Linked DNA regions of Homo sapiens: region 2 is linked to region 1. Evidence: promoter capture Hi-C in human tissues and cell types (Jung and others, 2019). All regions are on one chromosome and are shown on one strand. Each heading gives the region's core, a stretch centred on a gene start or on the middle of the fragment in contact. The rest is flanking DNA. Distances are from core to core; before and after follow the strand shown. Region 1 holds the start of STK33 (serine/threonine kinase 33). Region 2 has its middle 7.0 kb from the start of SYT9-AS1.

Region 1 (3,062 bases), core at 328-2,827:
TGCCCAGGCTGGAATGCAGTGGCAAGTTCACTGCAGCCTCGAACTCTCAAAAATATCTTGGTCTGGATGGTCATGTACATGGTCACCCAACTTTTTGGCCACATTAAGAGTTTTGTCTTTATTCTAAGAATAATGAGAAGCCATGATGGATTTTGAGCTAGAGGAGGTTGGGGGGTAGCATAATCAAATTTTAGTTGTGAAAATACTACTCCTGCTGCAGGGCAAAGAATGGATGGGAATATTGAAAGGAAAGGATAAATACCTTTAGATTAGTTAAGAGGCTACTACTGGACAACAGATCATGGTAGATTGGTCTAGGGTAATAGTAGCAGAGACAGAGATACTCAAATGGATTTGAGATTTGGTTTGAAGATAAAATGAATAGAACTTGATGATTGTTTGGATATGGAAAGGAAGAAAGTGCGAGGTGTCAAGGATGAGGCCAAGATTTCTGATTTGCAAACTAGAGGTTGGTATGACCCATTGAGATAGCAACAGAGATTTACACGAGCTAAAAATTTAAATGCGCGATATATCTGCATATCCATCACTGTCTAAAGGCACGGGCCTGGAGAACAAGGAAAGAGTTTGGGTTCAAAACTTGTTGATGTTCCTTTCCATTCACAGAGCCCTCTTTCAAGGCAGGACTATCCTATTTTCTGGTTGGATATTGGAGTCATTTGGTGGTCAGGCAAAAAAGAAGGTCCTTCTTAGCTGGTGATATGGGACGGGGAGCACCAGACCACTCTTAGCATGCAAATATCCCTTACTAACGCTCAAGTGCTTTTCACATGTACTGTTCACAAAACAGCTTCACATATAGGTTCACTGAAACCCACGACCTTGTGAGAAATTATAATCTACATTTAGGAAGCTGAGGGAGAGTTCTTAAATTACCTGTCCACAGAGCCAGTACGGGGCTGCTTTATGTCATCCTTTCACCTCCTATGTGCAGCCTCTAGGTGCAAGAGACTATCTTAAGGGCAACAGGAAACCTACCATATAATGGGGTCCCACTAGGTACCAGGCTCTAGCAGTTTAAAAAAAAGAAACACAACTTCAGAACTTCTAAGGATGTTTCCCACACACTTACCCCACAGTAAGTTCGCTTCTAAACTTTCAAAAAGTTTCACGTCCCAAGATGGGGTGAAGGTGAGACGGTGGAGATGAACCGGGGCAGACAGAGACCACCCCAAATACCGGACCCGGGGGAAATGGGGTACCAACGGCTGGGCCCCAGGAGACACTCGGAGGGGTCCGCGGGCTCGGCCCGGTCCCTCCGCTGGGGGGTTACCAGCCGGCCGGCAGCGAGATACCCAGAGGCCCGTTTTTCCACCGCGTTGCCATAGCAACGGCCTGGCCGGCTGCGCCCCGGGCCGCCCGCCCCATCCCGCGGGCCCGCCCTGAGCCAGTGACTCCAGGGACCACTCACCGCGGCCGGCGGACTGGCGGGTCTCCGACAGGTGCGCACACTCGGCGCAGGCTGTCGCTGAGCCCGGAATTCTGCACCGGGAGAAACTTTTCAGCCCGCAGAGCAACCGCAGGGCAGTGGACGGGGGCCGCGCGAGGACAAACAGCGGCGGCGGGTGCAAAGCCCCTTCTCCAAGCCGCGGGGTTGGCCGGGAGGTGCCGGCTGCACAACGGCGCCCACGTGACCCAGGTGCAGCCCCAGGCGCGCCCAAGGGCAGCTCGCCTTAGAGAAGGACCTAAAACCCCGTCTGGGGCACAGAGGAGCAGCCACGTGTTACGTAAAATAAAGCTTTGTAGCAGGAATATCACAGTACTGAGGTGATTGATGCTCAGGCCACTCTTCTCACTCGGAGTCAAGCCCATCAAGCCCCAGCCAGTTGGAGCAAGGGCTGCAAGCCTTGAACTGCAGTGAGTGGGGAGCTGGCCTAAAAAGACGGGAAAATGCTGGGGGGAGGGTGTTTGTCCCCACGCAGGGGCTGAGAAGACTCCTGACAGATCAAATGACGATTCTCAGGGATATGTTTTAGCTACAAACCTATGAGAACCATCTGAATGCCTGCCCCATGCAACAGAGGGTCCAGCTGTATGCTAATGTATTTACTGGCCTGAACTAAGAATGGCTTCTGTGGTCCTGGGTCCTACTCTCTAGCAGTGTGGGGAAGAAATTCAACTCTCCTAATACTAGCCTAATTATTTGAGGCAGATGTTCTCTAAAATTAGCTGATTGATAGCCAGTAACTTGATACGGCAGGTGGATTCATTGTATTGCTTCGGGGGAGGCTACATTTGGCAACTAGTTCATCCAGTCCTTTTCATCAAAAAACTCAAAATGGTCATAATGGGTGACTGGTAACTTCAAACTTCAAACCACTGGACTAGGCCGGGCGCAGTGGCTCACACCGATAATCTCAGCACTTTGGGAGGCCAAGGCAGGAGGATTGCTAGAACCCAGAAGTTCAAGACCAGCCTGGGTAACACTGGGAGGCCCCCATCTCTACAAAATTAAAAACTACCTGGCCACCAAAGGGCTGCAAGAAACCTACCATATAATGACGTCCTACTAGGTACCAGGCTCTAGGAGATTAAAAAAGATCTCCTAGGATAATCTCCCGCATCTTAAGGTCCTTAATCACATCTGTAAAGTGCCCTTTGCATATAAGGTAACATATTCACAGGTTCCAGCCTGGGCGACATAGCCAGCCCTGCCTCTAAAAACAAAAGCAACCACTGGACTGCGTTTTGCCCTGGATTAAACCAGACCACCAAAAAACTGTATGTTTGTACCATTTTGTCTTCACCGTTGGCAACATTGCATGAACCAAGTCATGTTTAGCACTATGCCATTTGCTTATATTAAGAGATGCTGTTTAAAAAAATTCATGATACCTCTGCATTTACTAGAGGGATTACTTTAAGAATGTTGTTTATTACATCTTTGTAGCAGAATCCTACCAGCTTGTCCAGCGCAGAGCTTTTCAAACTTTTTTGAGCACAATCCATCAAAATAAATATGTTTTACATTATCACTCAATACACAGGTACTCATATATTTAGTAAATGAAACAAGTTTTATAAAACATTACCCACATCAC
Region 2 (2,736 bases), core at 74-2,573, 1.1 Mb before region 1:
GCCCACCACCACACCCAGCTAATTTTTGTGTATTTTTAGTAGAGACAGGGTTTTGCCATGTTGGCCAGGCTGGCTTCGAACTCCTGACCTCAGGTGATCCACCCGCCTTGGCCTTCCCAAGTGTTGGGATTACAGGCATGAGCCACCACGCCCAGCCCCACTATTCTACTTTCTATCAAGTGCATTCCAAGATAGGCTGACCTTCATGGAAGAAGTGAAATAGAAAACTGAGGAAAAGAAAATAATTGGAAAAAAAGTCCCACAAGTCAAGAAAGTACCCCAAGGAAGACTTACAGGACAACTTCCAAGGCAAATGGGAAAAGAGAACATTGGCAATCTAGGAGCTGCAGGAGAGAGCCCTGGTCTTCATCCCTAAGCCCAGGATGAATGTGAGGCAAAAATAGTCTCTGTTCTTTTGGAGGAAGAAAAAGCGAGTGAGCAAGCAAGCAAGAGAGAGAGAAAGAGATAGAGAAAGAAAGAAAAAGAGGGAGGGAGGAAGGGAAGGAAGGGAAGGAAGGGAAGGAAGGGAAGGAAGGAAGGAAGGAAGGAAGGAAGGAAGGAAGGAAGGAAGGAAGGAAGGAAGGAAGGAGCAAGCTCTGAGCAGTGCCACAGACCTGCTTCCAGTGTCCCTGATATAAAGCTCTCTTTGCTCAGTCTCCCAAGAGAACAGATCAAGCTTCTCCCAAGGACTATGGCAGGAACCCACTTCCTTCTTCCACTCAAAAGACTTGTCACTTGCTGCTGGGATCCCTGGGCATATGGGCTGCAAAATTCAACTAGCTGCGTGATCACCTCTGTCACCTCACTCCCTGGTGTCTTCCCACTTGTGTCCAGGAGCTCTGGGCCTGGGAAGGATTAACAACAAAGATTAAAGATGGCCCACAAGGCCTCAGAGGATCAGGAGCCAGCCCTGAAGTCCAGAAATTTTGACTAAGCCTCTGTCATTAGGGTCTCCCAGCTCATCCATAGGCTAATGCCAAACTTTCACAACAGCTAGTGGTTCTCATGACACCTCCTCCTGGTAGAAAGGAAAGAATAAGTCAAAAGGACCTGGGCCACAGATTCTGTCCTCTTGAGTCATTGATTTTGCCTCCCTAAACTATATCTTAAGATAGATTACTCTGTGAAAGCTGGATGACCATTGCCAGACAATTTAAAAAGTATATATATCAATATGAAATGGATTGATGATAATATTGCATATTATAGTTTATAGCACATGGATGGTATTGCTTTTATCCATTTTCTTTATTTTTTGAAAATTGAATTTGTGATTTTAAACATTAAAGATAATAGAAAAATTAATTTTTTGGCTCAATACTAGATTTATTATAGCTATTATTCCAATAATTTATTCATTGAATTAAAGTTATTTCAAAACCATTTGACATAGGAATATTGATAGTTTTTTTTTCTACCAAGTGAACATCATCTTCAAGACATTCACACAATTTAGATAAAATTCCTTTTGCACAGCAGCTGTATCCAGAGGCTTGATCTTGGATTTAGATTTAAATTTATCAAAGAAAGGCAGTTTTTAAAATTTGCCTAATTCAAAGCTCAAAGACTAATGAAATCCTTTCTTCAAATACCTGAAGACATTTGTATTCAGGGCTCTAGAGATGAGCTTATGAACTCTATAAACAACTGGTAAGTAAACCTTCCAGAAACAAGTTTTACCTTTATAGCAGTACCCTTCTCTGCTGGTACCAATTATCCCTCCTAAAGGACTACTTCTATGTGTGAAGCCTCAGTGGGACCCATTGCCCCTCAGTGGGCCTTTTCTGGCTTTGAAAAGAAAAGACCCCAGCATGGTCCTCAAGTCTTCTGATGTTTATATAAAGACGGCAGGTCCTTGTAGAAGTGTTTATATAAATTAGGAAAGATTCCCCCACCTACCTTCAACTTATGACCTTCTTTGACTCCAGGGAACAAGGAAAAATCACTAGTTTGGGAAAGGTAGCTTTCAGTCTTGAAGCTGTAATTATACAGGGGTTAATGACTGGGAAGGAAGATTAAACTTTTACTCACTACTTGAAATTATTCTAGTGCATGATCTCACTTCTTTGGGTTCTAATCCTAAATTATTTGCCCTATTCTGGTAGTTGGACATAGTGGTGGAGACCAGCTGGCTCCTAGAAAGTACAAAGGGAACTCCACCCAGTTACCACCAAGCACAGTGCAGGTTGGAGACAGCCTTTTCCTGAGGTGGGGCTGAGGACCTGCTCTGCCACTGACCAATCCTGTGATTTCCAGGCCTCACCTTCCTAGACACTCTCTGCTGTCAGGGATCCTGCCAGACACTTGTCAGCCCCTGGTGCAGCCAGGTCACGGCCATATCTGAGGGATAAACAGCACTGCACCTGTGACTATACTTGGCTTCTACCCTTCTGGGCTTAAGAGGACTTTGGCAATCCCCAAAGGACTCAGACACAGCATGACCATGGGAAACCCCTGCCTAGAACTTCCTGCCTTGGCCCAGCCCATCACTGGTTTTTACATAATGGTGCTTGGCATTTCTAGGCCACTGTACACATATACACACACAAGCACAAATGCAATTATTGTGCAGGAACAGCTGCAAAGAGGCTGGTGCAGGGCTCCATGTCCTTCCTGAAAGTGGCTGAGGGGAGCATGGTCCTACCACAGCTGGGAGACTTGACTTTGTGCATCCCTTTATAGAAAGAAGCTCTCTGACTCTTACAGAAGTTGCTGCATGGGAATGCCAGAGATAAG

The links. The method cuts DNA at HindIII sites, captures the fragments that hold promoters and counts their contacts. A contact is called where the count stands out against the background at its distance.
Region 2: a fragment that was not itself captured here is called in contact with the fragment with the promoter of STK33 in region 1 in 1 of the 25 tissues and cell types used here (spleen).

Annotation. Positions count from the first base shown.
Region 1 is chr11:8,592,651-8,595,712 of GRCh38, forward strand. It overlaps STK33 (serine/threonine kinase 33), which reads right to left and starts at 1,578. Exons shown (of 16, transcript NM_001352389.2): 1 at 1,433-1,578. RefSeq lists a silencer at 1,141-1,400. The HindIII fragment of the contact is 7,731 bases long and covers 1-3,062 here.
Region 2 is chr11:7,471,516-7,474,251 of GRCh38, forward strand. No RefSeq gene overlaps it. Among named protein-coding and RNA genes, the nearest start is that of SYT9-AS1, 7.0 kb to the left of the region's middle. RefSeq lists an enhancer at 2,303-2,532. The HindIII fragment of the contact is 8,532 bases long and covers 1-2,736 here.